Regions from separate parts of the Homo sapiens genome. Here all the other regions are linked to region 1. Evidence: promoter capture Hi-C in 16 types of primary human blood cells and fetal thymus (Javierre and others, 2016). All regions are on one chromosome and are shown on one strand. Each heading gives the region's core, a stretch centred on a gene start or on the middle of the fragment in contact. The rest is flanking DNA. Distances are from core to core; before and after follow the strand shown. Region 1 holds the start of CDC25A (cell division cycle 25A). Region 2 holds the start of CELSR3 (cadherin EGF LAG seven-pass G-type receptor 3). Region 3 overlaps DHX30 (DExH-box helicase 30). Region 4 holds the start of SHISA5 (shisa family member 5). Region 5 holds the start of TREX1 (three prime repair exonuclease 1).

Evidence for each region. Contacts are between HindIII fragments. The CHiCAGO score rates a contact against its expected background, and 5 or more counts as called.
Region 2: the fragment with the promoter of CELSR3 here is called in contact with the fragment with the promoter of CDC25A in region 1 in 1 of 17 cell types (neutrophils); the score reaches 5.8 in neutrophils.
Region 3: a fragment that was not itself captured here is called in contact with the fragment with the promoter of CDC25A in region 1 in 2 of 17 cell types (megakaryocytes and endothelial precursors); the score reaches 7.4 in megakaryocytes.
Region 4: a contact is called between the fragment with the promoter of SHISA5 here and the fragment with the promoter of CDC25A in region 1, in 5 of 17 cell types (M2 macrophages, neutrophils, endothelial precursors and 2 more). The highest score is 8.4, in M2 macrophages.
Region 5: the fragment with the promoter of TREX1 here is called in contact with the fragment with the promoter of CDC25A in region 1 in 17 of 17 cell types (megakaryocytes, endothelial precursors, erythroblasts and 14 more); the score reaches 13.3 in megakaryocytes.

What each region holds. Positions count from the first base shown.
Region 1 is chr3:48,186,534-48,190,704 of GRCh38, reverse strand. It overlaps CDC25A (cell division cycle 25A), which reads left to right and starts at 2,288. Exons shown (of 15, transcript NM_001789.3): 1 at 2,288-2,927; 2 at 3,926-4,002. The coding sequence starts at 2,758. RefSeq lists a silencer at 2,622-2,831 and an enhancer at 2,575-3,203. The HindIII fragment of the contact is 7,442 bases long and covers 1-3,470 here.
Region 2 is chr3:48,661,074-48,665,244 of GRCh38, reverse strand. CELSR3 (cadherin EGF LAG seven-pass G-type receptor 3) reads left to right here and starts at 2,359. Exons shown (of 35, transcript NM_001407.3): 1 at 2,359-4,171. The coding sequence starts at 2,611. LINC02585 (long intergenic non-protein coding RNA 2585) reads right to left here and starts at 1,477. Exons shown (of 3, transcript NR_111921.1): 1 at 1,432-1,477. RefSeq lists enhancers at 1-537, 1,034-1,393, 1,708-2,293, 2,164-2,353, 3,465-4,049 and 2 more. The HindIII fragment of the contact is 11,755 bases long and covers 1-4,171 here.
Region 3 is chr3:47,823,280-47,827,450 of GRCh38, reverse strand. DHX30 (DExH-box helicase 30) reads right to left here. Exons shown (of 22, transcript NM_138615.3): 5 at 1-104. Among named protein-coding and RNA genes, the nearest start is that of DHX30, 22 kb to the right of the region's middle. RefSeq lists a silencer at 2,356-2,645. The HindIII fragment of the contact is 174 bases long and covers 2,043-2,216 here.
Region 4 is chr3:48,502,455-48,506,625 of GRCh38, reverse strand. SHISA5 (shisa family member 5) reads left to right here and starts at 2,452. Exons shown (of 6, transcript NM_016479.6): 1 at 2,452-2,607. The coding sequence starts at 2,532. RefSeq lists an enhancer at 1,367-1,920 and silencers at 2,258-2,737, 2,748-2,797. The HindIII fragment of the contact is 7,520 bases long and covers 1,112-4,171 here.
Region 5 is chr3:48,464,343-48,467,479 of GRCh38, reverse strand. TREX1 (three prime repair exonuclease 1) reads right to left here and starts at 1,250. Exons shown (of 2, transcript NM_033629.6): 1 at 1,171-1,250; 2 at 1-850. The coding sequence starts at 824. It overlaps ATRIP (ATR interacting protein), which reads right to left. Exons shown (of 13, transcript NM_130384.3): 11 at 2,818-2,898; 12 at 2,397-2,649; 13 at 1-1,993. The coding sequence ends at 1,926. It overlaps ATRIP-TREX1 (ATRIP-TREX1 readthrough), which reads right to left. Exons shown (of 15, transcript NR_153405.1): 12 at 2,818-2,898; 13 at 2,397-2,649; 14 at 1,171-1,993; 15 at 1-850. RefSeq lists enhancers at 1-440, 655-854, 441-1,322, 1,935-2,024. The HindIII fragment of the contact is 3,980 bases long and covers 1-2,879 here.

The sequences.
Region 1 (4,171 bases), core at 1,039-3,538:
AGACAGCCACCTCCTTTTTCCTCAGGCCTCCCCACTCTCCTCCACTGATCCACCCTAAAGCAAATCTGATCCGGTTATCACACACCCTCCACTGTCCACAGGATAAGGCCAAACTCTTCAGCAAACTCCAATCCTTTCAAGAACTGTCCCTCACAGCCAGTCCCATGTGCCCATTCTAGAACCGACTGGATCAACTCAGGAGTAGCTCCCGGCAAGTACGGCGTTCCTCCTCACCTCCTGGCTGCCGAGGGCCGTTTCCTTAGAAAGCACTTCCCACCAGCCCCAAGCTCCCCTTCTCCAGCAACCTTGACCTTTAGTTTTAATCTCCTTTAGGACGTGCCCCCCACCGTACTGCCTTCCCCAGTCCCCGCCCCTCCTCTAGGTGCCCACCATCCCTCCACAAACCACAGCTATTGTCATGGTAATAATTCCATTATTAGAAGGAGCTTTATGCTCAGCGGACCAGAGCTCCCTGAGAGCAGGGATTGTGGTATTATTTCAAGCACTGAATTTGTTCTAGTAATCCTTAAATAAACATATGTTGAATGAATGAATGCAGTAACAGGAATGTTGAGCCAAGTTTTGTTTTTGTTTTTTGAGACGGAGTCTCGCTCTGTTGCCCAGGCTGGAGTGCAGTGGCTCGGTCTTGGCTCACTGCAAGCTCCGCCTCCCGAGTTCAGCCATTCTTCTGCCTCAGCCTCCCGAGTAGCTGGGACTACAGGCGCCCGCCACCACGCCCGGTAATTTTTTGTATTTTTAGTAGAGCCGGGGTTTCACCATGTTAGCCAGGATGGTCTCGATCTCCTGACCCCGTGATCCGCCCGCCTCGGTCTCCCAAAGTGCTGGGATTACAGGCGTGAGCCACCGCTCCCGGCCTGTTGAGCCAAGTATTAAACCACATAAAACACAGGAGGAGAGGAAAGTATTCAGAGATACGACAGGGAGAACTATTTGAAACAGTGGGACCACAGACCATGTGAACTGTGCAGAGAGGCCTAAATAGCCTGGGGTTTCTGGAGGGAAGGGAGGTTCCTGGGTGGTGGAGCACTGGTGCACAGAAAAGGAGATGAATCCTGAGAGAGAGGTTCCTCACTGTGAAGGGTCTGGTGTTGGGGCCAAAGGTTTGGGGTTTCCACCTGTCCAGCATGGCTTTTCAAACTGTAGGGTTTTTTTTTTTTGAGTGGGGGGCAGGGGGTGTCTCACTTTGTTGCCCAGGCTGGTCTCAAATTCGTGGGCTCAGGCAATCCTCCCACCTCGCCCTCCCAAAGTGCTGGGATGATAGGCGTGAGCCACTAAGCCCAGCAGTAGGTTGCAATTAAATCATGCACTTATGGCCCTCAAAATCCGTCTAGGAGCTGCCACAGGTTCGGCGCTGTAAAAGTAAATATGCCCACTTAGAAAATGGGGATAATTCCTATGTCACAGAGTTGTAAAGATTAAATGAATTAATACAGATTAACACACTGGGAACAGTGTCAAGTGCATAAGCATTATGTAAACTTTAGCTATTATTTGCTATTATTGTGTTTGCTGTTATTTCTCTCTAGGAGCTCCCAGGGGGCTAAGAAGTGGTGGGAAAGAAAGAAATGATTCTAAGAGCATCCAATAAGGGCTAGAATGGAAGTGAGCAAAAAATGCTGAGGCCCACAGCACAGGTTGTACTGCGGGGTTCAAATCCCATGAGGCCAGCAGCACCCAGGGTCTGTGAGCCCTCCAGAGTTGGGCCCTGGTGGTCGAGTCCAGTCCTGGGGGTCATTGCATTCCCTCCCTCATTATAAAATGGGGCCTGGAGGCCCGGGGCGGAAGAAAGGGGTCCACAATACTGCACGGTTAGAGGCCGAGCCAAGGCTGGATCCGGCCAGACCTCCACAGGTCTTCCTTAGCCTCCACATTGCCTCAGAGTGTGGGGCGCCCGGCTGGGGGCGAGGTAGCGGAGGCCCAAAGGGGGCCGAAGCTAACTGGACGGCAGCTCGCGATGGGAACTACGCTTCCCAGCATGCGACGGGGCAAAGGGGCCTTTCAGCCGCGAGCAGCGCCTCGCAGGTTCTGCTGGGAGTTTTCATTGACCTCTGCTCCCCCTCTCATTTTGATCCCCGCTCTTCTGCTCTGGGCTCCGCCCCCTTCTGAGAGCCGATGACCTGGCAGAGTCCCGCGAGCCGCTTTCTTCTTCCCCTCTCATTGGCCCAGCCTAGCTGCCATTCGGTTGAGAGGAGGAGAAGTTGCTTACTGATTGGTGGATTCCGTTTGGCGCCAACTAGGAAAGGGGGGCGGGGCAGCAGCTGGCCCCACTGAGCCGCTATTACCGCGAAAGGCCGGCCTGGCTGCGACAGCCTGGGTAAGAGGTGTAGGTCGGCTTGGTTTTCTGCTACCCGGAGCTGGGCAAGCGGGTGGGAGAACAGCGAAGACAGCGTGAGCCTGGGCCGTTGCCTCGAGGCTCTCGCCCGGCTTCTCTTGCCGACCCGCCACGTTTGTTTGGATTTAATCTTCAGGTTGCCGGCGCCCGCCCGCCCGCTGGCCTCGCGGTGTGAGAGGGAAGCACCCGTGCCTGTGGCTGGTGGCTGGCGCCTGGAGGGTCCGCACACCCGCCCGGCCGCGCCGCTTGCCCGCGGCAGCCGCGTCCCTGAACCGCGGAGTCGTGTTTGTGTTTGACCCGCGGGCGCCGGTGGCGCGCGGCCGAGGCCGGTGTCGGCGGGGCGGGGCGGTCGCGGCGGAGGCAGAGGAAGAGGGAGCGGGAGCTCTGCGAGGCCGGGCGCCGCCATGGAACTGGGCCCGGAGCCCCCGCACCGCCGCCGCCTGCTCTTCGCCTGCAGCCCCCCTCCCGCGTCGCAGCCCGTCGTGAAGGCGCTATTTGGCGCTTCAGCCGCCGGGGGACTGTCGCCTGTCACCAACCTGACCGTCACTATGGACCAGCTGCAGGGTCTGGGCAGGTAAGGAGAGACCGGCGGGCGGTGCTCCGGGCCCCTGGCCTCGGTGTCGGCCTCGGAGAGATCAGGCCAGGAAACGGACCGGGAGAAGGGCGAGACCCGTCCGTCCGGGTTCGCCGCTCGGGGACAGCCGGGCTAGGGCCTGCCATGTGCACCCCCGCCCGGGCGGAATGTTGGGCGGGAGAGGCCGTCGGGACCTTCCAGGGGAAGAGGTGGAGATCCTTGGGCCTAAGCCCGAGCCAGGCCCACCTTCACCCCTTTCGGATTGCTCCGTACTCTCCTTCTATCTCTATCCCTGGAAGCTCTTTGGAATCTACCCCCGCGGGGAAAATCAGGCTCTTCTAGGCACTCACTTTCACCCTTTGCTAAACCATCCTCAGGATCTTCGTTTGCTGTGATCTTTGTTCCTTCTCAACAAAGGACCATGGCATTTTCTTTCCTGGCGTTTATGTAAAATCATCTCAGTCCCTCGCCCTGTGCACATTCCTGATGTCCACTCTGCTGCTTTCCTAAGGCCAGGTCTTTTTACCCAACTTTCAGAAAGCTTCCTGGGCTTTTCCTGATAGCAAAAAATGCATCCCACGGTGTTTCCCGCGGAAGAGCTACTTTCCCTTCAATCTCTGGCATCCCGTTTGCTAAGCACATGTCTTGTGCGTTTCCCAACTTCTGAAAAGCAGAAAGTGTCCTGTTCAACTTTCATCCCGACTCTGTCTCAGTACTTAGAACACATGCTTTTATTTTAGGAAATACCCCAACATTTGCCATAGCCATCATAACCTGCAATGTGGTCCAAGGCCATGCCCACCCACTCCTTTTTTCTCCTTTGCCCAAGTGCTAATTGGGTGTTCAGAGTGGCAAAGTGGGATCTTTGCCACTTGTGGTGTGGCCTAGAAATGGTTTCTGGCAGCCTGGCTGCTTCTTAATCTCATGGCCTATCTCCTGCATGTGACCTTTTAATTATATCCTATAAATCATTCATGGTTTATTTCTGTTGGTTTCAGTGATTATGAGCAACCACTGGAGGTGAAGAACAACAGTAATCTGCAGAGAATGGGCTCCTCCGAGTCAACAGATTCAGGTATTTAAGTCTGCTGTGTGGGGAGCAATACTCTGAATTTCCTGAAACATGCCTTTTCACCCAGGAGGTTAGTTTTGGTGAGAACTTGAGGAAGTCATGGCATTGGGTGATAAACTTTTTTTTTTTTTTTTTTGAGACAGAGTTTCGCTCTTGTCGCCCAGGCTGGAGT
Region 2 (4,171 bases), core at 1,110-3,609, 470 kb before region 1:
GGGGCTCCACAGAACAGCCACAAAGGGAGGATGACAGTGGGATGACACACAGCAGGCAGCAACATGGAGAGTGATCCGCAATCAATCTCACTACTCAGAAGTGAGGAGCTTTGCTCTCCAAAAGGAGTGTTAGCTGGGACCAGCGCCAGCCCTATTGGTGAGAGGGCAGGGCTTGATTTCCCTCAGCCATAGTCCCTTTATGTCTCTGCACATTTGCCCACACAGTCTCCAAGACCTAGGATGCCCACCCCCAATCCCTATCCCTCCCTGCCCTTCCTTTGCAGATGCGGATCTCCCCTTGGTCATTCAAGGCACTGCTCAGGCATCTTATGCAAGAAGGCGTCCCAGGTTGCGAAGGTGACTCAGACGCCTCCTTTGGGACTCCAACACCCTTCCCCGGCAGAGCCCCTGCCTGTCTGCCTCCGTGGTGTCAGGTTTTGTGCCCTCTACTCACTAGATTGTGGACACAGAAAGCGCTGGTGCTGTCAAAACCACTTCTGGGTTGCCGGGCGCGGTGGCTCACACCTATAATCCCAGCACTTTGGGAGGCCAAGATGGGCGGATTGCTTGAGCCCAGGAGTTCAAGACTAATCTGGCCTACATGGTGAGACCCTGTCTCTATAAAAAATGCAAAAATTAGCCAAGTGTGATGACATGTACCCGTAGTCCCAGCTACTCGGGAGGCTGAGGTGAGAGAATCGCCTGGGGAGTTCGAGGCTACGGTGAGCTGTGATCACCACTGCACTCCGAAAGAGTGAGACCTTGTCTCTAAATAGATAAATAAAACTACTTTGGGGGACTCGCTCCTCCAGCCCCTGCACCGATTGGCTCCCATTCAAAGGAGTTCAGCCCTAAGTGCCTCTGCAGATCTTCCACCCCCACTCACAAACCCGTAGGAACCCCGGCCGTGTATCAGGCCCAGAGCTCTGATCCTGGGGAGGTCCTCAGATTCGTAGACAGGAGAGGGAACAACTGGACACCTGTTGCCTGACCTTGGTAGCCACAAGGGGCGCTCGGGAGGTGGAACCCGCAGAAGCCCCGCCTCCCGGAAGCGGAGCAGTCAAGGGGCGAAAGGATGCGCCGACTGATTGGTTGATGGTGATGTCATAGGGACCGTTCGGGGCGGGCCAGAGGCCTTGGCCAGGAGTTCCTCGCCTGTTAGAACCAGGATCCACCCCATCGCGGGAGCCGCACCCTGTGGAGCGTTCTGGGGTCCCGGCCCTGACCTCTTCCTGGGCTTCGGGATGCCCGCGTCCTCTGCACCCGGCGCTGCAGCTCGTTATCGATTCCGCCTTTGGAGGCCGGTCCGTATAGTGTACCTCCCGGACTCTCTCACGGTTAGCCGGCAACCCGCGGAGCCCCCTCCCCCATGCGATGAGTCCGCCGTGAGGGGCGGGGCCTCCCATTGTGCCAATAGAAACAATGACTGACCGATTGGAGTGCTCCGCGTTCACCCCTCGCCTCCGCTCCTCTCGTGACGTCTGTTGCGCCAGGTCCACCCATTGGCCTGGCGAGACCGGCGCGTGCCAGGAGTTACGCAGGGAGAGCTGGAATGCACCGAGGGTGGGGGGAGGACTGAGTTTCTGTGTCAGTCCCTTCAAGGGGTTAAGGCATGCGGTCGTGACGGACGAGGGGCGGGGACCCGAAGAAGCGGGGCCCGCAGCCATGGGGCAACGCCGGGCTCCACGTGGCATCCCAGAGCACTCGGGACTCGCAGCCTGGGAGGGGGTGCAGCCTCCAGTGAAGGGGCCCCGAGCCCGGGAGACTGCTGGGGACCAGCAAGGCAGGGAAGAATTTGGCCTCTGCTCCCGCCTCGGGAGGGTCATCTCTGGTCCCTGCTCCGCAGGGGCGATCCAAACAAGCAGGTGGTCGCGACATGTTTCATAAAACTAGCTGATGGGATAGTTAAAGCTATTGTTCGGGGTGCTGGCACCCCAGACCCCTCTCCAGCCATCGTCCCCTCTACCCCAGGATTTCACACAGTACCCCCTCCCAGAGCTATGAGAACGCTCATGGGCACCAAAATTTCAGACCAAAATCCGGGACACGGTTCAGAACTAGTGGTCAGGAAGGGGGAACAAGAGATCTGGAAGGACAGAAAAAGGCTGGGAGACGGAGCTGGGACAGCGCCCTAGAAGGAGGGAGGTGGGTGAAGGCGGCGACCGAAAGTGGGGAGGGCGGACCCAACGACGGCGAACCTTCGCGCTCTGTTCAGCACCAGGAGCAACGCTCACGTCCTCAATAAAGATGGCGGCAACATCTTCGGTCCTCAGAGCTGCCATGCGCGATGGGTTGTACCACCGTGTTTCGGGCGCCGGGGCAGAGGTGGAGCGAACCATCGGGGCGGCCGGGAGCCATGTTGGAGCGGCGGGAGGCGGCAGCAGCGTCGGGGATGCTGTGGTGGGGGCGGAAAAAGCCAGGGCCGCACGCCGGAGGGGCTCCGGCCGCGGAGTAGATGGTGCCCAGAGGGCGGCGGGGGTGCGGAGAGACAGGCGGAGGGGCGGGGGCCCGGGGCGGCGGCAGGGGCCCGGGAGGGGGCCCGAGCGGCGGGGCCAGCCCAAGGCCCGGACCGGGGCGGGGGGCGGTGGAGGCCGTGCAGGGAGGCGGGGGATGATGGCGAGGCGGCCGCCGTGGCGGGGCCTCGGGGGACGGTCGACCCCCATACTCCTGCTCCTTCTCCTCTCTTTGTTCCCCCTCAGCCAGGAGGAGCTGGGGGGCGGTGGGCACCAGGGCTGGGACCCAGGCTTAGCTGCCACTACGGGGCCAAGGGCGCATATCGGTGGCGGAGCCTTAGCTCTTTGTCCGGAGTCTTCCGGGGTCCGGGAGGATGGGGGGCCTGGCCTGGGGGTCAGGGAGCCTATCTTCGTGGGGCTCCGAGGGAGAAGGCAAAGCGCCCGGAATAGTCGAGGGCCCCCTGAGCAGCCGAATGAGGAGCTGGGGATTGAACACGGCGTCCAGCCATTGGGCAGCCGCGAACGAGAGACAGGACAGGGACCAGGGTCTGTGTTATACTGGCGCCCAGAGGTCTCCTCTTGCGGGCGGACAGGACCTTTGCAAAGAGGTAGTCTGTCACCAGGGGCTCTGTCCTCAGGGGTCCCGGGCTCGGGGAACAGCTCGCCCCTCCCTTCAGACTTTTTGATTCGGCACCACGGTCCCAAGCCGGTGTCCTCCCAGCGGAACGCTGGGACAGGCTCCCGCAAAAGAGTGGGCACCGCGCGCTGCTGTGGGGAATTATGGGCAACAGGGAGCAAGGGTCAGGGCGAGAGAGCCACGACATCCGGAGCAGAAAGGACAGCCCCCCGGCGGAACTGTCTTCCAGGGGCCTCGGGATCTGGCCCCGAGCTGGATTCAGCACCACGCACGGCGAGGACAGCTCCTGCATCAGGTTCAGCACCCCGCGAGTCTCGGACAGCTCCCGAGCCGGCGCCCAAGCGCATGCGCTCCCGGGGTCTCTTCCGCTGCCGCTTCCTCCCGCAGCGCCCCGGGCCGCGTCCCCCGGGACTCCCGGCCCGTCCTGAAGCCAGGAAAGTAACCTCGGCGAACCGGGCACGCTTTCGTCGCGCCGCAAACCGCCACCCGCAGTTTCCGCAGTACAACTACCAGACGCTGGTGCCGGAGAATGAGGCAGCAGGCACCGCGGTGCTACGCGTGGTTGCTCAGGACCCGGACGCCGGCGAGGCCGGGCGCCTAGTCTACTCGCTGGCGGCACTCATGAACAGCCGCTCGCTGGAGCTGTTCAGCATCGACCCGCAGAGCGGCCTTATCCGTACGGCGGCAGCTCTGGACCGCGAGAGCATGGAGCGTCACTACCTGCGTGTGACCGCGCAGGACCACGGGTCGCCGCGCCTCTCGGCCACCACGATGGTGGCCGTGACAGTAGCCGACCGCAACGACCACTCGCCGGTTTTTGAGCAAGCGCAGTACCGGGAGACCCTTCGCGAGAATGTGGAGGAGGGCTACCCTATCCTGCAGCTGCGTGCCACTGACGGCGACGCGCCCCCCAACGCCAACCTGCGCTACCGCTTCGTGGGGCCGCCAGCTGCGCGCGCTGCAGCTGCCGCCGCCTTCGAGATTGATCCACGCTCCGGCCTCATCAGCACCAGCGGCCGAGTGGACCGCGAGCACATGGAAAGCTATGAGCTGGTGGTGGAAGCCAGCGACCAGGGCCAGG
Region 3 (4,171 bases), core at 880-3,379, 360 kb after region 1:
GTAGACTAGTTTGTCTTTTGCATGTGAGATGCCGAGGGCTCTTCCAATCACACTGTTGAGAAGATTTTTGGGCTGTGGGAACTCTTTTAATAGGTCCCTAGAAGCTAAGAAAATAAGAACAAAAGCATTACAGTTGTTCTTTTTCTTTTAAAAACTCCATGGGGTGTGTATCAGGGCAACCCTGGGCTGGATTCTGAGGATGTTGGCTCATGACCCCAAACCACCCAGGAGCATCTTGGAAAAGAAAAGAGGAATGACTTCAGGGTTTACAGGGAAGAGTGGGGCCAGACCCACTTGAATAACCATCTCCTGAAGAAGGGCCAATGACCCACACACCACAGAAGGGATCCTACCAGCATCCTCTTCTCCGCCCAATCTCCTCATTTCATACATCACCTACAAAAGCCTGGTTGGTCAATAAACCCCCCAGTCTGATGTCTGAAAGAAGACACTAAACAAACAAGCAAGCAAAAAATACAAAAACAAAAATCCACCACACACACAAACTGGAGATCAAGACAATGCAAGGCTCTTCCTAAAATAAGACACACACACGAGAGACCTGGCCCCATGTATCTCAAGTGATGAGATCCAGATGCTGAATACCAGGCCCCAGCTCTCAACCGTATCTAAGCACACTGCAAAAGACTCCCACAGAACCAAACTATGTGTGGGGACTGATTAAAGACCTCTACATCTGGCTGGGCGTGGTGGCTCACGCCTGTAATCCCAGCACTTTGGGAGGCCAAGGCGGGTGGATCACAAGGTCAGGAGTTTGACAACCTGGCCAACATAGTGAAACCTTGTGAAACCTCGTCTCTACTAAAAATACAAAAAATTAGCCAGGCCTGGTGGCAGGCGCCTGTAGTCCCAGCTACTTGGGAGGCTGAAGCAGGAGAATCGCTTGAACCCGGGAGGCGGAGGTTGTAGTGAGGCAAGATCGCGCCACTGCAATCCAGCCTGGGCAACAAGAGTGAAACTCCATCTCAAAAAAAAAAAAAAAAAAGAAAGAAAACCTCTACATCTGAGCAGGCATGAATTACTCCTCCCCCAAGTTCTCTGGAATCAAGGGGAAAATTGATGCATCAGATACCATGAGAGGTACCTCGCTTCTTTTTCTTGTTTTTTGGATTAATCTCAGAGCAGAAAGGGAAGAGATATCTACCTAGGGTAAGCTTGTACCAGACACAAGGCTTAACCAGGTCATGAAGAGGTCTGCTAGGAACATGGGGGGCCATATCATTCTCCACTCTAGCCTCTGGCAGCTCCAAAAGGAGCTGTATATATGCACATGTGCACCTGCGTGTACACTGATCACCTGGGGAGCTTTTTCACCGCATGGACATCCAGCTCCCCACAGGGGACCTGAGAATGGGAGCGATGTTGGAGGCGACTCTATATTTTCAAAAAGTGCTTCCAAGCGTTCTGATGTAACTCTGCTGCCTGGTTTGAGACTGTTTCCTTGGGACAGACTCCTGTGTCAAGTGGCCAGGATGGAGGACACCTGATCCTGTCTCCCTCTAAGCGGTAACTTGTAAAGCAACTAAGAGTCAAGCAGTTAAGCAGTTAAGAAACCATATCTAAGTGGACTTGGCCGGGGCGGGGGGGGTTTCGTCACAGAGGGACCCAACTTCGAGTAGCCCATTACACCCACTGGTTTAACAATAGAGCTGCACTGAGACCACCACCCCGCCCCCACCTTCAGCTCTATAAGGTTGGTGGAGGCTGGCGCTCTCTACCCATCCTTGATGCTTTCAACAGTTTTATCCTCTGCACTATTTGGGAGGCACAAAGCTGGAATCCACCAGAACAGTCATTCTGTCTCTATTTGAGATCCTGATGTCCCAGGAGTTACTTTGGGCTATTTCTCACACTGGTGAGGGCATGCTTGTCCCTAGAAGCTCTAGCCCTTGGCCACTCATCCTGGCAGGAGTTGGACTTTTACTCGTTTTCCCCACTCCCTCGAGGTCTCGCACCTCTCACCTATTCTTGCCGGGAGCAGGTACTCTAAGGGTCCATTCGGGCCTGTGCCACGCTAAGCTTTACAAACAGCAAGGCCGCTGCCCGCCGACGGATGGCGAACTTGGCCACTATGGAAGAGAGGACCCCCGGCCGCCAGGCCCGATTTCGGCCCGCGCCCCTAGCTCTGCCATCCCAGGAGTCAAGGGCGCTGCGGACCGCCCGCCCCCGCCGATGCCCTCACCGTTCACCAAGCTTCCGTCGCCTTCCCCAGGCCCGCCGGGGGCCATCCCTGACTCGGCCTCGGCGGCTTCCTTGGTGTGGTCGGGGTGGGCGCAGCTTGAAGAGAAGCCGCGCGAGCGACCCTGTCGCCCAGCAGCGCGGGGACCCAGCGGCTGCAGGCGCGGAGAGATGCCGGCGGCCAGCGCCATGAGTCTCCTAGCGGCCGCCATCGTGCTCCCGCCGACCCCGAGGCCTGTGCGCGGCAGGGACCGGGCGAAGAGAACGGGAGCGGCCGGCCCGAGCGCCGCGCGCCCCCTGCGGGCCGGGCGGACCCGAAGCCCAAGCCTAGGCGAGGGCATCAGCAGCCCGTCCTCGCTCACCACAGCCCTGGGCCTTCAGTAGGCGGGCTCGGCGCTGCCCAGGGCTAGGACCCTGCAGAGCTCACTCTCCAGCAAATCTAAACCAGCAGTCGTGTGGATGGAAGGCAGGAAGATGGAATGAGGCTGTTGGGGGGAAAATAATGCTAGGCCTTAGCTCAATGTCATCTAAGGAAGCGAAGTTAGTTCCCTCTAGGTCCTACCAATTGTTCCTAACTACCTCTCACGTGCCTCTGGCAAATTGGCAGCCCCATCTTATTTAACGGCTTACAAAGTAAACCTGGTGAAGATCTGGAGCCAGGGCCAGGCGCCGTGGCTCATGCCTGCAATCCCAACACTTTGGGAGGTTGAGGCGGATGGATCCCCTGAGCCCAGGATTTTGAGACCAGTCTGGGCAGCATAGTGAAACCCCAACTCTATTAAAAGTTTAAAAAACGAAAAAGAAAATCTGGAGCCAGGCCAAGGAAGACCTCTTCAGGAAACAGATTTAATCCCCAGGGCTGGAGGGGAAGGTGAAAACACCCAGCTTTGGAAACTGCCAAGAATTGAGCTGGTCCAGCGTAAAGTCCAGCAGTGAAAGTGCTGTTCCTCGCCAGGCGCAGTGGCTCACGCCTGTAATCCCAGCACTTTCGGAAGCCGAGGCAGGCAGATCACCTGAGGTCAGGAGTTCGAGACCAGCCTGGCCAACATGGTGAAACCCCATCTCTACTAAAAATACAAAAATTAGCCGGGCATAGTGTCGCGCGCCTGTAATCCCAGCTACTCGGGAGGCTGAGGCAGGAGAATCGCTTGAACCCAGGAGGCGGAGGTTGCAGTAAGCCAAGATCATGCCACTGCACTTCAGCCTGGGTGACAGAGCAAGGCTCCATCTCAAAAAAAAAAAAAAAAAAAAAAAAGGAAAAGAAAATGGTATCTGAAAGCTGAAGGAGACAACAGTCTAGACAGAAAGGCCCCACCTGGACAGCAGGACCCAAGCCCTTTGTGGCACTTGAGGAAGCCCTCAGGATAGCACTCTTTTCTGACAGCCATTTGGCATAAGGCTGAAATGCCATGATTTCTTAGTTGCCTCTAAAGAAGCCAAAATGAAGAGCTATACACAAAGCAACACTGGCCATGAGTTGTTAATTGTTGAAGCTGGGTGACAGGTACTTGCAGGTTCATTATACTATTTTTTCTAGTTTACAACACATGTGTTGAACAGATGTTTAGATTTTTATGTTAAAAAAAAATCAGCCAGGCGCAGTGGCTCATGCCTGTAATCCCAGCACTCTGGGAGGCTGAGGCAGGCGGATCATGAGGTCAGGGTATCAAGACCATCCTGGTCAACATGGTGAAACCCCATCTCTACTAAAAATACAAAAATTAGCTGGGCATGGTGGCACGCGCCTGTAGTCCCAGCTACTTGGGAGGCTGAGGCAGGAGAATTGCTTGAACCCGGGAGGCGGAGGTTGCAGTGAGCCGAGATTGCGCCACTGCACTCCAGCCTGGCAACAGAGTGAGACTCCGTCTCAAAAAGACAAAAAAAAAAAAAAAAACAACAACCAGGGATGCCAACCAACTAGTTTGTTCCCAGGGGGGTCTTTGTCTCGGTTTGGTTGTGTCCCCACCCAAAT
Region 4 (4,171 bases), core at 1,203-3,702, 320 kb before region 1:
TCTATACAATGTCTGTAATCTATAGATAACATAACTGATTAGGTCAGGGGTCGATCTTTAACTACCAGACCCAGGGTGTGGCGCCGGGCTGTCTGCTTGTGGATTTCATTTCTGCCTTTTAGTTTTTACTTTTTCTTTCTTTGGAGGCAGAAATGGGGCATAAGACAATATGAGGGGTGGTCTCCTCCCTTAGACCCACAGAAAATGCCTGCACACATGGGCACATGCCTGTGAGATGCATGGTTGCGATTTCCAAGCCACTGGGGTGATCCTAGCCTCCACTCACTCCTGCCCATGCACAGCCCTGGGTGGAGCCCAAAACACCCACCAAGCTCAACCATGAGCTGTGGGCAGATAAGAGGGTATGGGAGAGCCAAAGACCAAAAAAGTAGGGAGGAAGAGGCCAGGTGAGAGGCCCCTAAAGGATCTGGGGTTGGGGGCAGCAGAGTAGAGAAGCCAAAGGCAAGCATAGGAGGTGGGAAAGGACAATTCTTTTTTTTTTCATTTTTTTTTTTCGAGATGGAGTCTTGCTCTGTCACCCAGGTTGGAGTGCAATGGCGCGATCTTGGCTCACCACAACCTCTGCCTCCCGAGTTCAAGCGATTCTCCTGCCTCAGCCTCCTGAGTGGCTGGTATTACAGGCATGCACCACCACACCTGGCTAATTTTGTATTTTTAGTAGAGACGGGGCTCTACTGAACATGGAGATGTTGGTCCATGTCTATCCAACATGGAGATGTTGGTCAGGCTGGTCTCAAACTCCCAACCTCAGGTGATCTGCCTGCCTCTGCCTCCCAAAGTGCTGGGATTACAGGTGTGAGCCACTGCACCAGGCCTTGTTTTTCTATTTTTGAGACAGGGTCTTGCTCTGTTGCCCAGACTGGAGTGCAGTGGCACAATCATAACTGCAACCTTCATCTCCTGGGCTCAAATGATCCTCCCACCTCAGCCTCCCAAGTAGCTGAGACCACAGGTGCTTGCTACCATACCCAGCTAATTTTAAAATTTTCTGTAGATATGGGGTCTCCTTATGTTGCCCAGGCTTAGAACAACTCTTAGGAGCTTGGCTGGGGGGCAGGGACTGGAAAACCAAGGAACAAGAAACCAAGCTTGTGGATGGTGCAGAGTGGAATGAGCAACCTTTAGGGAGGCAGAGGGCTGGGCACCCAGGGTGTGGAACACAGGATGGCTCTAGAGCTGGACATGAGGAGCATACACTGGCCATTCTGCAGAAGGGGGACCTAGGCTGCACCCAGCTTTGGAGAGTGGCGCTCAGGAGGCAGAGGTGGGATAACCAGGCTGGGCTGTCAGGGAGGATGTGACTCCAGTCCCTCACTAAGACCCTCCCAGAGGGCATCCTGCCTGGGAACTGTCATATCCCTGCCCCCCACATGTGTATTGAGCACGGTGAGTCTTAAGCCCTTCTTGGCCAGGAGGTGATGGGGGCTTATTGGAGACCCAGGCCTTCCTCTCCCTGTTCTAACACCCTAGCCTGGGAAACTACTGGGAACATCCCAGATTGTCCCCTTGGGTTTCTCTTTGTCCACAGCGATGCCCCCACCTTTAGGTGAGAAATATATGGTGGCACACAGGGTGCACAACCCAGCCTGGGTGCCCCACTAGTGTGACATTTCACGTTTTCTGTCTTGAGTGAAATGTTCTGATTGTGCTAGGTGCAGAGTGGGGGTGGGTCAGGAACTCTGGGCATAAAAGGAAGAATGACTCAACATCCCTGATTCTGCCTGGACCCCTGCCCCGAAGTGAGGGGGCGGAGCCCTGTGTGGGAAGTTGGCCTGGCTGTGTGCCCTGGGAGCTGCCAGTTTCTAGCTCAGTCCTGGCCCACTGCGCCAGCGCTGAGCCTGCCAGGGCTGGGGCTGGGGATCACCTTGGGATGATGGTGTCAGTCCCAGGGGGCAGGAGATCGAGTGTCCTCTGAGCTGGCGACTGGGCCTGTAGAAGGGAACCGGCATTTGTGGAGTGTCTACTGAGTGCCAAGGTCTGCGCTGGGCACTGTCCTCGCACCGCCTCACCTAGTCCTCACGTAGCCCTCGGGCAAGTGAGGATCCGCCGGGACTGCGGCTGGGAGGGATGGCTGTGGCTGTCCCCCAGCCCACACAGTAGGCGCTCAGTGTCAGGGTGCATATTCCCGGGGACGCCCTCCAGGCCTGAGAGCTGGGGGCCGCCGCCGCCCCCCATGCATCCGGTGAGCAGAAGGAAACTCCGTGCGTCGCCCGGCGCCTGTCCGAGTCTGGGAACCGGTACCAAGTTTTCGCGCAGACCCCGGGCGCGAAGCTGGCCCCGAGGCTGGGAAGTCGTCCGCTTCCTTCCTTCCTCCTCCTTCCACCTTCCTCCCTCCTCCCTCCTCCCTCCTCCTCCCTCCTCCTCCTCCTGCTCCCCCGGACAGAGGTTCCGGGAACCAGCCGGGCCGGGGCGGGGCGGGGCGAGGGAGAGGGGCGGCCGCGCGGATCACTGAGGCTGTGGCGGCACTGCGCCCGGCGCTCGCGTCCGTCCGCCCGTCCGCCCGCCCAGCCATGACTGCGCCGGTCCCCGCGCCGCGGATCCTGTTGCCGTTGCTGTTGCTGCTGCTGCTAACGCCGCCTCCGGGTGGTGAGCCGGGGGTGGGGGCGGCCCGTCCTGCCCTGGGACCGGGCAGACACTTCCCCGCGCTGCCTCTCCAACGAGCCGGGCAGCACCAGCCCCACTATGCCCCCCACTGACCCCTGATTGCCCCGAGGCCGTCAGCGAACCCCCACGACTGCGGACCCCTCCTCCACCCCAGCACCCTCCTTGCCTGAACAACCCTGCCTAGACACCAGGCAGCTGCCACCTTTGTCTGTCCTGGAACGGTGGGGAGGGGTCTGCCCTCCCGCCCATGTTCCAGGGGATGGAGTCCCCAGAGGCTAGGGTAGGGTTCCCTGCCTGGCTTTAGTCTGGCGGGTGGCTGCAGGGCGAGCTGGCCCCTCCATCAGAGGCCTTCCCTCTTTGCCTCTGTTTAATGTCTGGGAGCCCCCACCGCTGCCTCCGTTGGCCCTTGTGTTCCTGTAGAGCCCGGCGCTGAGGCTGGCCTCTGGGGTGGAGACACCACTGTGTGTGTTGGTTGCAGATAGGTGATTCACAGAGTCTGGAAGGCTGGCTGGGGGCGGGTCCTTTAAAGGGTTAGGAATTGGAACAATCCCCTGCCCACCCATGGGAAGCCAAAGACCCTTTTGGGGTGGGTGGCTTCGTGGAGGGGAAGGCTGTATTTCCTGGGGGCTGGGATGAATCCAGAGGACCTGGGCTAGAGAAATGAGAAAGGGGAGACTTGTGCCCAGAATCCGCCCACTCCTGGAGTGAGCCTGTAGGAGGGTCGGTCACTGATTCAGTGAGGTCTGGGGGTCAGAGAGCATTTGTGCCATGGACTCAGCCTAAACAGCCTCACCGGTGTGTCTTCAGCCCTAGCTCAGAGGCTCAGATTGGGCTGTGAAGACCTTGCTGCATATGGGTTCACCTGAGCCACCAGGCACGGGCCATGCTGATGATACCAGCTTTCAGGTGGGCAGCTGGCCAAACTGGGCTTGTCAATGGTCCAATCCTCTGCTCCATGGCTTTGCCCAGAGCAGGGTTCTGCCTGGAGCTGCCAAGAAGTGCAGTTCCCCCCAACTCCCCACTAAAGTTCCCTCTTCCCAAGGAGGTCACTTGGTGTCTCTGTCTCTGGGCTTCACTCTACTGACAGCCTCGGGGTGTGTGGTGTCCTGATCAGGCCCGGGCACCAGATGCTGCACATGGCCAGGTGCCTGGCCTGGCTGGGTCTCCAGAGGCCACGTGCTATGGCAGACTGTTTCCAGGCCGATGTAGTTATGCCTCAGGGCTATCATCAGACCTGTCCCCTGCCTACTGCGGACTTGTGGGCCTTGCTGGACTAGGTATTCTCTTTGGAGTCTGCCCTGGCAGAATCCGGTACTGTTCCTTCCTGTTAGTGGGCACAGGTCTCTGCTAATGTAGCCTGAGGATACATGGGAACATTTGACTGTAGCATCTTCCTGGAGGTTTGTAAACCTTGTGGTCATCCAAAAACCTGGGTTATTTTCCACATTTGTTGTCAGCCAGATCCCCTCAGCATGACCTCGTTTATTGAGACTTGTAAGGATGTCAGTAGATCCCAACTCTGTGCTGAGAGTCTTGTGATGGCTCC
Region 5 (3,137 bases), core at 1-2,500, 280 kb before region 1:
GGAGGAAGATCCTTGGTACCCCTGCTCTCTCCAAGGCTGGGACTAGTGTTCCTGGTTGTGGCCAGGTGTGCAGTGGTTGTGACAGCAGATGGTCTTGGCTTGGTCCTAGCAGAGGCTGTGACCCCATACATGGGCCTGATGGTGCCGAAAGGCCTGGCGTGAGCATCCACCCACCGCAGCAGGGCCTGTGGTCTCCACTGACAGATGCTGAGCAGGGCCAGGACATCACCCTCAGCCGTGTGCGAGTCTGGAGGGGACTGCCCATACAGGCGAGTGTAGATGCTGCCTAGGCTATAGCTCTTCCTTGGGCCGTGTTCTGAGGGGCTGCTTGCTCGCTCCAGGGCCTTCAGCGCAGTGATGCTATCCACACAGAAGGCACCATCCAGAGCACTGGTGAGGCCCAGCATAGCCAGCTCTGCTTGGAGCAGGGGGAAGTCGTAGCGGTCACCATTGTGTGCCACCAGGCACCAGGGCTGTGGCTGGCGCCGCAGGAAGGCTAGGAGCAGGTTGGCCAGGTTGTCATCAAAACATTGACGCCCATGCGCTGCCAGCACAGCTGTGCTCAGACCTGTGATCTCGCTGGCTGCAGGGCTGCAGGCCTTCCCCGGAGCCACACACAGGGAGAGCTTGTCTACCACACGCGGTGGTGGAGGAACTGTGGGAGGTGGCCCCTGAGAGGTGGGGGGGCTCTCCAGGGCACATCTGTGGACAGCCAGCAGGCACAGCTCCGTGACCTTGGGCTGGGAGAAGGGCAAGCCAGTGGCCTCCATGTCGAAAAAGATGAGGGTCTGCATGGGCCCCGGGGGCAGGGCCTGCGAGCCCATGGTTGGGTACGTACCTGCTGCTGAGCCTGGAGAGGAGCATGGGGTGGGTGTGTGAGTGCCCAGTGTTAAGATCCGAAGGGGAGGGAGTGGGGTAGGGGGTGGGCAGAAGCACATCTCAGGCCTTCCCTGCACAATCCTGCCCTGTCTGCGAGCTCCAGGGCCCATTTTCAGGCAGGAAGTTGGAGAGGGTGAGGTGGTTTCCTTAGTGGGACCAGCACATTCGACTGTCTGAGAGGGTCTCCCTCTTCACATGACTCGGCCCCTCCCCTAGTGCCCCCTTAGTCTGGGGTGGGGGAACCCATGGCCCTCCTGCCCTGCGCCATCCCATTGTGGGGGCCACACTCACCGTAGCAGGCAGGCAGGCAGGCAGTAGTGACTCGGCTGCACACTCTCCCGCGGCTCTCGCTGGCAGCAGTGGCGGGAAGTGAAACTTGGCGTGGGCCCGCCTACAGGCCCACGTGAGCCAGGCCCGCCCTGCTCGTCAGCCTGCCTGGTCTGTCCCTCTCACCACCATCCGTTCCCCCCCACACCCACTCCCCTGCTCCCGGGGGACCCCAGAGGCCTTCCAAGATCCACAGCTGTGGCCTGCTGGTGGCACAATGCACCGGGGCCATCATACCAGTGACAGGCAGCTGGAAGGACCAGGGCAGTGGTGCCAGACCAGCTCCCGGTCTTACACACTGCTGGGAGCCCCTGCTGCGGCCCTTTCATGCCCACCTGTGGGTCCCAGTTTCCCAGGCTTTCCTGGTTTAGGCCTGGGCCAAGAGCCACCTCCTTCCCTGCCACACAATGGTTTCTTCCCATGGCCCCAGCCCAAAGCAATGACTCAGGACAATTCCACAGGCAGGGCAGGGCTCCTTCCTCAAGGCAGATCAGTTACCATGGGGACGGGCTCAGCAACAGCCAGGGACAGGAAGAAGGATCCCAGCCACTCAGGGTCCGGGTCCTGCTCCACCCCTCCCACTCCGCCAAACAGATCAGACTCAGGAAACAAGGCCAGCCAGTTCTCTGGGCAGTTCCTGCTGGTCACTGCTTTAATCAGTTGATGTGGTAAGGAAAGGAGTGGTGCTGGTGCCACCATGTGGCTGGACACTCAGGGCCTCAGCCACACTCCACCTCGGGGTCTTCCACATCGGTTTCCGCGGCACAGAGGTCATCCAGGGCTGCCTCTGAGACAAAAAGGAGAGGTTCCTGGTGAGGGCCCAAAGGTGCCAGGGCCTAGGGCAGGTCCCACCTCTCCTCCCCCAACGTCCGCAGGAACTAACCAGTCCCTTCCACACCCAGGCCCTGCTCCCTCAGCTACTGCAAACAAAGTGATACAAAGGCAATTCAGACACGGCTATTTCTGGAAAAACCGTGGCTCTGCCAGGCACACTCAACAGATAGATGCAAAAGGCATCCCAATATGCTTGGAGAAGAACTGAGGCAGGAAGATAAAAGAAAATGGCCCCAGTGCTGGAACAGGCTGCAGTGGGCGGGGGCCTGCTGAGGGGACACCCAGGAATCTGACTTGTTGGGGAACCTCTGGAAGAAGCCATGGGGGCTGGGCAGGATGGCCTCTGGCAGGCTTACCTTCACAGTCCGTCACATCAGGAAGCCCTCGGATGAGCATGCTGACCCCCGGCATCACCTGGTCAAACTGATGCAGGACCTCCACGCAGTGCATCATGAAGAGCTTGTCCTTCTGCGATAGGCCGTGCAGCAGCAGCACCGTGTCCCGCAGACAGCGCACTGTCCGCCTCTGCTGGTCGGTCCTTGGGGGTCCCCCTGCCCTCCGCACTGTCAGCCACTGTCTGTGCAACATCACCGTGAGCGCTCTGACCACCTGAGAGAGGGGGGGTGCAGACTGAGGCCTGGTGCCACCATGGCCTGCACCCTAACAATCCGCTCAGCCTAGCCACCTCACGTGAGGGGGTTTGCAGTGGGGCCTACAGTCCTTGCACGGGGCCCCCTTACCACCAGAGCTGCCAGCTGTTGGCCCCTACCCACTCACCTCCACATTACACTGGCAGTTGGAGCCAGTGACTGGGGGCAAGGGGCTCTGCACACCAAGCTTAGCCAGGAGCCACACCACCTAGAACAAGAACAGATTGGTTCCATCCTGGGCAGAAGGAGACCAGTCCCTGCGAGGGTTTTCTTAAGCTTCTATAAGAGTTCACTTGCTTCAGCAACTGTTTGTCTGCACAAATGGGGTCCAAGAAGTGGTGTGGGACCTTCCCAGGGAAGACCCAGGACAAGCACTCATGTGTCACCAGCAACCCACCTGCCTCCAGCCCCCTATTCTGCCCCCACGTCCCAAAGCCAAGACAGGAT